2 separate regions of the Homo sapiens genome follow, and region 2 is linked to region 1. Evidence: promoter capture Hi-C in 16 types of primary human blood cells and fetal thymus (Javierre and others, 2016). All regions are on one chromosome and are shown on one strand. The core of a region is centred on a gene start or on the middle of the fragment in contact, and the rest is flanking DNA. Distances in the headings are between cores, read along the strand shown.

What was found. The method cuts DNA at HindIII sites, captures the fragments that hold promoters and counts their contacts. A CHiCAGO score of 5 or more calls a contact.
Region 2: the fragment with the promoter of GP6 here is called in contact with the fragment with the promoter of CACNG8 in region 1 in 1 of 17 cell types (monocytes); the score reaches 5.1 in monocytes.

What each region holds. Positions count from the first base shown.
Region 1 is chr19:53,959,052-53,964,658 of GRCh38, forward strand. CACNG8 (calcium voltage-gated channel auxiliary subunit gamma 8) reads left to right here and starts at 3,886. Exons shown (of 4, transcript NM_031895.6): 1 at 3,886-4,374. The coding sequence starts at 4,092. RefSeq lists enhancers at 1,016-1,916, 2,727-3,247. The HindIII fragment of the contact is 5,876 bases long and covers 912-5,607 here.
Region 2 is chr19:55,036,303-55,041,601 of GRCh38, forward strand. It overlaps GP6 (glycoprotein VI platelet), which reads right to left and starts at 1,962. Exons shown (of 8, transcript NM_016363.5): 1 at 1,901-1,962. The coding sequence starts at 1,934. All of the region lies in intron 2 of GP6-AS1 (GP6 antisense RNA 1), which reads left to right. It also overlaps a transcript of RDH13 not described here. The HindIII fragment of the contact is 26,016 bases long and covers 1-5,299 here.

The DNA of each region.
Region 1 (5,607 bases), core at 2,636-5,135:
CTCTCTGGATGACTCTCTCCCTCTCTCTTCTTTCCTTCTGTTTCCCAGATCCTGACCCCCCCCACACACACACTTACCCCAGCCCTCCCCCACCCCCTCCCCCCCAGCCCCTGCGTTTCTCTCTTTGAGTCTCTGTCCCTGTCCCCTTCTCTCTCTGGATATTTCTCTGTGTGTATCTCTCCAACTTCCTTCTGCTTCCAGCCGCTGCCTCCCCCAAATTTCTCCCTCCCCCATTTCTGTTTCGCGGTCTCTGGGTCTCTCTCTTTCCGTTTCTCCTCGTCTCTCTCTGTCTCTCTCCCTCCCTCTCTGGATCTCTCTCTTCTCCTCCGGCTTCCTTCTGCCACTCGACCCTGCCCCCCTCTTTCCCTTCCCCCATCCATCTCCTCTCCGAGGCTCCCCATCCCTCAGCAGCTCCCCTCCCCCTCCCTCCCTACTCCCTCCCTCTCGTCCTCCAGCTCCGCACTTTACCCAGCGACACGAGAACCAAATTGTCTCCTCACCTTTTTTTTTTAATATATATATCCCGACCCTCACTCCCTTGGGGCCCAGGCTCAGAGCTGCCCCCCAGCCCCAGCCTGACCTCAGCACCCCCATTCCCCATACGCCTCCTCATCTCCACTCCCCGAACCAGGTCGGACGCCTGGGTCCCTCACTGCTGGGGGAGGGGGAAGCAGCGAGAATTGGGAGCCAAAAGGTTTTTCTGGGGGGGGTGCCAACAGGGGGGGCTCGACGTCCCCTCCTCCGTGCATCGGAGAGTTGACCTATCATTAACAGAGGTGAGACAGATCTTTTTATTAATCGGAGGTGGGTGGAGGTAGAATTAATGTTCTGTGATCCCCCCCCCCGAATTCTGGAGAAAAGAGCTGGTCCCCTTCCTAAGGAGAAAGGAGAGTGACCCCCTCATATCCGGAAGCTTTAGAATTGGGGGTCCCCAGCTCTCTTCTCCCTGGCAGCTGCTGAACGATGGACTAAGAGTCCCTAAAACCAGATTGTGCCCCAAATTGACAAAATGAAAAGATCTTCGAATCTTTTTTTTTTTTTTTGGACGGAAGGAGAATTTCCCTCCTTTCCCTCCTCTTCCCTTCCCCTCTTATCCCAGGTTGTTAGGGGCCTGGGGTCACAGGCTTACCCCACTGAGAGCAGATATCTGTTAAGACAGGGTAGGTGGCCCTGCTGGTGGTGAGGGGCACCAATTCGGGGAGAAGAGGCCAAGAGATCAAGAAGAGAGGAAACTCAGCATGCGGACAGAAAAGAGAGGAAGGGGCCGGCGCCCAGGCCGGGAGGCTGGGGGTTGCCCTGTCCAGCGGGCTGCTGAACTGTGGCCTGAGGAAGGGCTGTGTGTGGGCAGACGGGAGTTGAGGTGGGGGAGGGAACACAACGTGTGGGGCACTAGGCCCAGTTGCCATGGAGACACCCCCCATAGACAACCTTTTTCCACAGCCCCTCCTCGGAGCAGCCCCAGTCTGAGGCCAGCTGATGGGGGGCAGTGGAGACGGGCAAGCAATCAGGAGGCCAAGGTCACCCTGTACTGGGACCTAGGTTCTGGTTTTTGTTTTGTTTTTTTTTAATCCCCTCTTCGTCTAAGGTTTCCAGGCTCTTAACTATAGTGGGTTTGGGGGAAGAAGTTGAAGAAGCAGTGTGGAAGCAAGTAAGGAGTACATCCCCCAGAGGACAGTTGGGGTGGGGGAGACAGGCAGGGCTGGGGGCATGGTGGTCGGGGGAGAATGTGGAAGAGAGAAATGAAGGAGCCACGGGGCAGCGGGTGCAGGCTGGGAAAGTATTCCTAATTGAAAAGAGAGTTGTAGTCTTGCGGATCACATTTTTCAGAGGGACACAGTCTACTGGGGGGGCTCTTTCTGCATGTGGAAGAAGATGAGGGGCTACAGTGTGTGTTCCTGTACAGGTGAAGTCGTAGAGGGGAGTACTGGGGGGCGTTCCCAAGAAGGGAAGCCTGTGGGGGCCTGCGGAGGGGATTTTCCGGGGCAGAGGAGAACCTGGGAGCTATAGCGGTGGAGCAAGAGGAAGTGAGTCAAGGGAATTCTATATGATGAGAGAGAAGTTGGGGAGGATGCTTCCTGGTACATTGAAGAGAGAGTGGGCTTCAAAGTGAGTTAGGGGGATCTCAAGTTGGGGGAAACAGTGTGCTGAAGATCCCGTGTGATGATGAAGGGCTACGAGGAGGGGATTTGGAGGCAGTGGGAGCTGCTGTGAGTGCAGAGGGGCGGGTGGGTGGTACAGTGTGCCCCCTGCTATGGGAGTACAGGGCAGAGATTGGAATGGTCCTGAGTGGAGAGACATTTGGGGTCTGGAGGAAGCCATTCTTGCGAGTAGAAAATGCCGTGGAACTCACGGAGGAAATTTTTCTTAATGGAGGAGAAAACGATGGTTATGATATGAGTTCGTTTAAGTTGTGGGGGGGGGGGTGGCGGGGTGGGAAGATTCAGAAAACTCTTCTAAAGCAAAAGAGAGGGTGGGGGTTTTCCTGGAGTAAAGGCATAGTATGGGGTGGGGAGTGAGTGGCTTGTGGGGAGACAGTGGGGGCTGTGACAGGGAATGGGCTGGAGATGGCGGGGGGGGGGCAGCTTGCAAACCAGTGGGTCTGATGTTGGGTGCATTAGAATTCCCCAGGGAGCTTTTAAAAACTTACATGCGCAGGCCACACTGCAGACCAACCATGTCGGACTTTCTCAGGTGGGACTCAAACATCCGAATTTTTAAGGTCCTCGGGTGATTTCCAGGTGTGTTGGAGGCTGCCCGAGGCAGGAAGGGGGCTTCCAGGGAGAGGAGGCTGACTGAGGGTGGCTGGTGATTCCGAGTTGCACAAACTGTGAGGGTCAGCTGGGATTTTCTTTTTCTTTTTCTTCTTCTTTTAATTTTTCCTTTTTAGTTGAAGAGAGGTTGAGAGATTTATTTTTTCCTAAGGAGAGGAAACTGTGGGGGACCATTTGGAGTGATGGAATGACAAAAGCCAGACCGGAGGGGGCTCGCGGAGGTTACTCCCACGGAAGTGGTGCTACTCGGGCTTCTTAAGTTGTGGAGACGCTCAGGGAAAAGTTGGGCTGACAGGGAAGGGTTCTAGCGGGTGGAGAGGTGGGGCTTGCAGGGGAAGAGTGGGGAGAGCTGGTGGGCGCCGCATGGTGATGGGGCGGGGGTCGCTAAGGAAGGAAGAACGCGACGGGGGCTCCTGGGGAGGAGGCGGCGGCGTGGGGCTTGGCATCATGGCGGGGGGTGGCTTCCCATGCGATGAGGATCGTGGAGCCCCCTGGGGCGGAGGCGGCGCGGGCTAGGGGCGAGGGCTGTGAGTGTGAGCGGTGGTGGGGACTCCTCCGAGTGGGGTTAGTGGGATGGTGGGACGACTTTCTTGGGCAGAAGACAGGAGTGGAGAGAGATTTCATCTTATTTATTAATTATTAGCGGTGGTGGGGACTCCTCCGAGTGGGGTTAGTGGGATGGTGGGACGACTTTCTTGGGCAGAAGACAGGAGTGGAGAGAGATTTCATCTTATTTATTAATTATTAGCGGTGGTGGGGACTCCTCCGAGTGGGGTTAGTGGGATGGTGGGACGACTTTCTTGGGCAGAAGACAGGAGTGGAGAGAGATTTCATCTTATTTATTAATTATTAGCGGTGGTGGGGACTCCTCCGAGTGGGGTTAGTGGGATGGTGGGATGACTTTCTTGGGCAGAAGACAAGAGTGGAGAGAGATTTCATCTTATTTATTAATTATTATTATTATTATTATTATTATTATTATTTTTGAGAAAGAGAAGCAGTGGAGCCCCGAGTGGAAGGAGTTTCTGGAGCTGAGGCAGGGATTTTGGGGGGGGGGGGGCGGGGACTGGGGGAGGTACCTGTGCCTTCTTCTCCTCTAATGCGAGATCTCGCTCCTTGCCCTCCACCAGCCGCCGACCATGGCCGCGCTCTGACCCCCTCCCCGGCCGCAGCCTCCTCCTCGCCGCCCCCCTCCCCAGCCCCGCCGGCCCCGGGCCCCCCGCTTCTGCCTGCGCTGTGAACCCCCCCCCAGCCGCCGGCACGGCCCCGCCCCCGCTGCCCCGGTGGTGGCCCACGGCCCCCCGGCTGCCCGTGGTCAAACTGGAGTCGCTGAAGCGCTGGAACGAAGAGCGGGGCCTCTGGTGCGAGAAGGGGGTGCAGGTGCTGCTGACGACGGTGGGCGCCTTCGCCGCCTTCGGCCTCATGACCATCGCCATCAGCACTGACTACTGGCTCTACACGCGCGCCCTCATCTGCAACACCACCAACCTCACGGCCGGCGGCGACGACGGGACCCCCCACCGCGGGGGCGGCGGCGCCTCGGAGAAGAAGGACCCCGGCGGCCTCACGCACTCGGGCCTCTGGAGGATCTGCTGCCTGGAAGGTAGGGTGCGGGCGGCCCTCCCCGCAGCCCCCGCCGCTCCCCTCCGAGAGACCCTGAGCCTCCCGGGGCTGCCTGTCCCTGATCCTGGGGCCCCCTTGGGCACCCCTCCTCCTCTGCCAGAGGGGCTTCTGCGCCTTCCCACTCGCGCCCCTGACCTCCTCTCCCCTCCTTCCCACTCCTCCCTGCGTCCTGGCACCCTGCGGAATTCCTCGGCATGCTCCCTCTGCAGCCCCTCTGCCTCTCCGCTGAACCCCCTTATCCTATCTTTCCCTAGTCCGTGTCTCCTGCGCTGCCCCATCACACCCCTGCATCTTCCCTCTCTCCAGTACCTGGGGCTCCTCCTGTTTCATTTCTTCCACTCTGCCCTGTGCCTTTTCTCTTTTTTTTTTTTTTTTTGACAAGGTCTCACTCTGTCGCCCAGGCTGGAGTACGGTGGCACAATCACAGCTCACTGCAGCCTCGAATCCCTAGGCTCAAGCCATCCTCCCACCTCTGCCTCCTGAGTAGCTGGGACCACAGGCATGAGCCACTGTGCCCAGCTAATTTTTTTTATTATTTGTAGAGATGAGGTCTCCTGTTGCCCAGGCTGGTCTCGAGCTCCTGAGCTCAAGAGATCCTCCTGCCTTGGCCTCCAAAGTGCTGGGATGAAGGGCATGAGCCACTGCACCCAGCAGCCTCTTTCTCCCTCTTTCCCGTCAGTTCATCTTGACCCTGCTCCTCCGCTCCACCTGCCCCTTCATTTCCTCTCCCTCGTGCCCCGTGACATCTTCTCTCTCCCGACATTTCCCCCCCAGTCCTCTGAAGTCCCCTGCCTCTCCCGCCCCCTTTCACGGCCCAGTCTTCCGGTCTGTCTCTTTCCCCTTCTCTTTGGCTGCTGCTCCCCTGAAACTTCGTGCCTTAACTCGCCCTCACTCATGACTTTCTCTCTTTTCTGCCTTGTGCTTCTCCTCCTGTTCATCTTTCTCTTCCCATCAGTGCCCCCACCCATGTCTCTCCCACCAGGGTGCCCTCCAACCTCCCATCCTGGTCCTTTCCTCCTTTTTCCTTTAGTGGACTCCACTTCCTCTTCCTCCACTCATGCCTCCTTCGACGTCTTCCTGACTCGATGCCTCAGGCCTTCACGTTAAGGCTTCTCGCTCCTGCCCCTGCTACCTCCTCGGATCTTCGACTTGGTTCTTTTCCTCTGTCCTGTTCTCCCTCTCACAGCTTCTCTCCTAGCTCGGCTCCCTGGCT
Region 2 (5,299 bases), core at 712-3,211, 1.1 Mb after region 1:
TACACTAGTCAGGTGACAGGTGCACTAAAATCTCAGAATTCACCAGAATATAATTCATCCATGTAACCAAGAACCACTTGTATCCCAAAAGCTACTGAAGCAACAAGCCAGATGCAGTAACCTGTACAGGCCACACCTGTAACCCCAACACTTTGGGAGGCCGAGGTGGGTGGATCGCTTGAGCCCAGGAGTTCAAGACCAGCCTGGGCAACATAGCGGACCCCCGTAACTAAAAAAATTACAAAAACAAGCCAGGCATGATGGTGTACAACTGTAGTTCCAGATACTCAGGAGGCTGATGGGGAGGCACTGGTTGAGCCTGGGAGGTTGAGGCTGCAGTGAGCCATGATCATGCCACTGCCCTCCTGCCTGGGTGACAGAAGTGAGGCCCTATCTCAAATAAAATTAAATAAATAAAAGTTAAAACAGGCTGGGTGCGGTGGCTCACGCCTGTAATCCCAGCACTTTGGGAGGCCGAGGCGGGTGGAACCTGAAGTAAGGAGCTTGAGACCAGCCTGGCCAACATGGTGAAACCCCGCCCCTACTAAAAATACAATAATTAGCCAGACCTGGTGGCAGATGCCTGTAATCCCAACTATTCGGGAGGCTGAGGCAGGAGAATCACTTGGACCCGGGAGGCAGAGTTTGCAGTGAGCTGAGATCATGCCATTGCATTCCAGCCTGAGCGACCGACTGAGCGAGACTCCATCTCAAAAAACAAACAAAAAGAAAAAAAGAATACATCCATGGATGGATAATGAATGAGAGGTTGTTTATATTCACAGTTAACCCTCTCATCTCCAGTAATGCAACCATCTTCTTCCTGCTTAGCCTTTTGGAGATGCTGTCCCTTTAGTGGTCAAATTCTGAAGAAATCAGGAAATAATGCATTCGACATGCCCAGCACAAGTGAAGATCAGGCAGCAGAAATGCATTCGACCTGCCACCCATCCATCAGGAGACTATTTACTCCACTACTGTAGGGGATACTGACAAATTAAATCCATACCTAGTCCAGATATCAATTCCACAATTTTTTTTTTTTTTTTTTTGAGACGGAGTTTCGCTCTTGTTGCCCAGGCCAGAGTGCAATGGTGTGATCTTGGCTCACCGCAACCTCCACCTCCCAGGTTCAAGCGATTCTCCTGCCTTAGCCTCCAGAGTAGCTGGGATTACAGGCATGTGCCACCACACCCGGCTAATTTTGTATTTTTAGTAGAGATGGGGTTTCTCCATGTTGGTCAGGCTGGTCTCAAACTCCCGACCTCAGATGGCCCACCCGCCTCGGCCTCCCAAAGTGTGTAAGCCATGGCACTCAGCCTTTTTTTTTTTTTTTTTTTTTTTTTTTGAGATGGAGGCTCTCTCTGTTGCCCAGGCTGGAGTGCAATGCCTGACCTCAGCTCACTGCAACTTCTGCCTCCCAGTTTCAAGCAATTCTCCCACCTCAGCCTCCCACGTAGCTGGGATTACAAGCACCCGCCATCACGCCCGGCTAATTTTTGTAGAGATGGGGTTTCACCATGTTGACCAGGCTGGTCTTGAACTCCTGACCTCAGGTGATCCACCCACCTCGGCCTCCCAAGGTTGAGATTACAGGCGTGAGCCACTGTGCCTGGCCCACATTTTTTAAAAAAGGGGCAACTGCAGTGTAGTAGAACAAAGTTGTGACCAATGCTAGGATACTCTGTTCATTTCCTGACCCAGCCATGAATACACTGGAATAACTCATGCAAAATGCCAGCTCGCTGGCCCCCCGTTTCCCCACCCAACAAATGAAGGGGCTCTTACAGGTTCCTTTTTGTCCTGAAATTCATCACCAATGCAAATTTCTTAAAAATCCTTTGTCTGGCAGTCCATGCCTGTCCTTCAGCATTTCCCAGATCTGACCCTCAGGACTCACCAAGACAGAAGAGGGCGGTCGGGGATGGAGACATGGTTCCTCAGCCCTGTCCTGAGCTCTGTGGCCAGGGAGGGAAGTGGTGGGAGCCTGGGGCACAGGCTCAGGATGTGATGAGGATGAAGAATGCTCTCCTCCCTTCCTCCACCAGCCCCGGCCTTTCCTAATTGAGACTCATCGAGCCGTAGCCGGCTCCTCAGTACAGTGACTTGCACACAAGCTCCAAGGAGCCGCGCTTATCTCCTCTGGCCAGCCTGGCGTTGCACCGTTTGTCCGCCTGCTGGGGCCTGGTCTGTGTTCCCGTGCTCCCATAAACTCCCTGATGTCACTAGGAAAATACGCATCAAAACCACAGTGAGATATGACTTCACACCTTCTGGAATGGCTGTATTTTTTTTTTTTCTTTTGAGACAAAGTCTCGTTCTTTTTGCCCAGGTTGGAGTGCAGTGGCGCCATCTCGGCCCACTACAACCTCCACCTCCCAGGTTCAAGCGATTCTCCTGCCTCAGCCTCCCAAGTGGCTGGGATTATAGGTATGTACCACACCAGGCTAATTTTTGTATTTTTAGTAGAGATGGGGTTTCACTGTGTTGGCCAGGCTGGTCTTGAACTCCTGACCTCAGTTGATCCACCTGCCTCGGTCTCCCAAAGTGCTGGGATTACAGGCATGAGCCACTGCACCCGACCGGCTATAATTTTTTTTAATGGAAAACAGCAGATATTGGTGAGTATGCAGAGAAATTGAACTGCGCGTGCATTGCTGGCAGGGACGTAACATGGCGCCCCTGCTGTGGAAAACAGTTCCAGCAGCTCCTCCAGAAGTTAAACGTGGGATTGCCATAAAATCCAGCAATTCCACTTCGGGGTACACACCTAAAAGAACTGAAAACAGGGTCTCTAACATATTTGTACACAGTGTTCATAGCAGCTTTATTCACAATAGCCAAAAGGTGAAACCACCCACATGTCCATCAACAACAATGGATAAACAACATGTGGTATATACACACAAGGTAATATCAACCAGCCTTAACTAAAAGAATAAAAATCAGCCAGGCACAGTGGCTCACGCCTGTAATCCCAGCACTTTGGGAGGCCGAGGCGGGCGGATCACCTGAGGTCAGGAGTCCGAGACCAGCCTGGTTAACATGGTGAAACCCCATCTCTACTAAAAATACAAAAATTAGCTGGGCGTTAAATTAGCCGGGCATGGTGGCAGGTGCCTGTAATCCCAGCTACTTGGGAGACGGAGGCATGAGAATCGCTTGAACCTGGGAGGCAGAGATTGCGGTAAGCCGAGATCGCACCACTGCACTCCAGCCTGGGCGGCAGAGTGAGACTGTCTCAAAAATAAAAATAAGGCCGGGCGTGGTGGCCCATGCCTGTAATCCTAGTACTTTAGGAGGCTGAGGCAGGCAGATTGCCTGAGCTCAGCAGTTCAAGACCAGCCTGGGCAACACAGTAAAACCCCCAAAAAATACAAAAAAAAAATAGCCGGGCATGGCGGCAGGCACCTGTAGTCCCAGCTACTCCGGAGGCTGAGACAGGAGAATGGCTTGAACCCGGGACGCGGAAGTTGCGGTGAGCCGAGATCGCGCCATTGCACTCCAGCCTGGGTGACAGAGCGAGATTCTGTCTCCAAAAAATAAAAAATATTATAAAAGAATAAATTCAGATACATGCTACAACGTGATGGACCTTGAAGACATTATGCTAAAGGAAATATTCCGGACTTGACAGATAAATACTGCATTGTGCCGCTTATCTGAGGTATCGAGAGGAGTCAAATTCATAGAGACAGGGATTAGAATGGTGGTTGCCAAGGCCTGGGAAAAGTGGGGAGTTACTATTTAATAGGGAGCGCTTAGGTTGAAGATGATGACAAAGTCTGGGGGATCCATAGTGGTGATGGTTACACAACACTGTAAATGTATTTATATTTAATGCCATTGACTGTTTTTTGTTTTTTGGTTTTTTGAGACGGAGTCTCACTCTGTCGCCGAGGCTGGAGTGCAGTGGCGCGATCTTGGCTCACCGCAACCTCCGCCTCCCAGGTTCAAGCGATTCTCCTGCCTCAGCCTCCTGAGTAGCTGGGACTACAGGTGCGTGCCACCATGCCTAGTTGATTTTTTGTATTTTTAGTAGAGACGGGGTTTCACCGTGTTAGCCAGGATGGTCTCGATCTCCTGACCTTGTGATTTGGCCTCCCAAAGTGCTGGGAATACAGGCATGAGCCACCGCGCCCGGCCAGTGCCGTTGACTTGTATGTGCACTTACAGGTGGTTAAAATGAGAACTATCAGGGTGTTGATATCTAAAAACCTCCCTGCCATCATCTTCCCTACATCTCTCATTCAGTGACCATGGTTGAATGCCTGCCACCTTTCAAATATTATGTCAGGCACTCAGTATTGGCAGTTTTATCCATTATAAATGCTTTAAGCTGCATAGAATTTTAAACGTGTTAATAAAAGTAGTTATAAATCTTTAATACATAAGCTGGCTTTAAAATTATTGGTAAAATAAGATTAGAAATGTCTTAAGAATTGTTGGCGTTTTTGTTTGCACTTATTGAACGAGTGGTTTCATGCTTATCCCTGCAGAATACTATGAGATTTGTCATAAGGGTTATAAAACTATAAACCCGGCTGGGCGTGGTGGCTCACGCCTGTAATCCCAACACTCTGGGAGGCCGAGGCAGGCAGATCACCTGAGGTCGGGAGTTTGAGACCAGCCTGACCAACATGGAGAAACGCCATCTCTACTAAAAATACAAAATTAGCTGGGTGTGGTGGCGCATGCCTGTAATCCCAGATACTCAGGAGGCTGAGGCAGGAGAATCGCTTGAACCCGGGAGGCAGAAGTTGCAGTGAGCCGAGATTGCGCCACTGCACTCCAGCCTGGGCAACAAGAGTGAAACTCCATCTAAAATAAATAAAAATAAAACATTTGTTTTTTGTAGAGTTGGGGTTTCACTATGTTGCCCAGGCTGGTCTTGAACTCCTCCTGGGCTCAAGCAATCCACCGACCTCAGCCTCCCAAAGTGCTGGGATTACAAGTGTGAGCCACTGTGCCTGGCCCTATTGGGTCCTTTTAAAAGATACATAAAAAATCAAATGCAACAGTGAAGTCAATCACCCGATGGCAGAAATTGGGGTGCTCCTGGCATGTGGTCGGTCGAAGCCAAGGACACTGCTCAGCATTCTGCAGTGCACAGGACGGCCCCGCCCAGGCGGAGAATGATCCGGTGACACATATAGGTGGGAAGGATGCACGAATGATGGCGTTTAGGAAGAATATTATCACTTCTTTCCCGTAAGAGCAACTTAGAGCAAGAAAATGGTATTATTCTTAGGGCCTTCTCTCTTATGGAGGCTCCAAGCCAGGGTTGCCATGGCAGAAG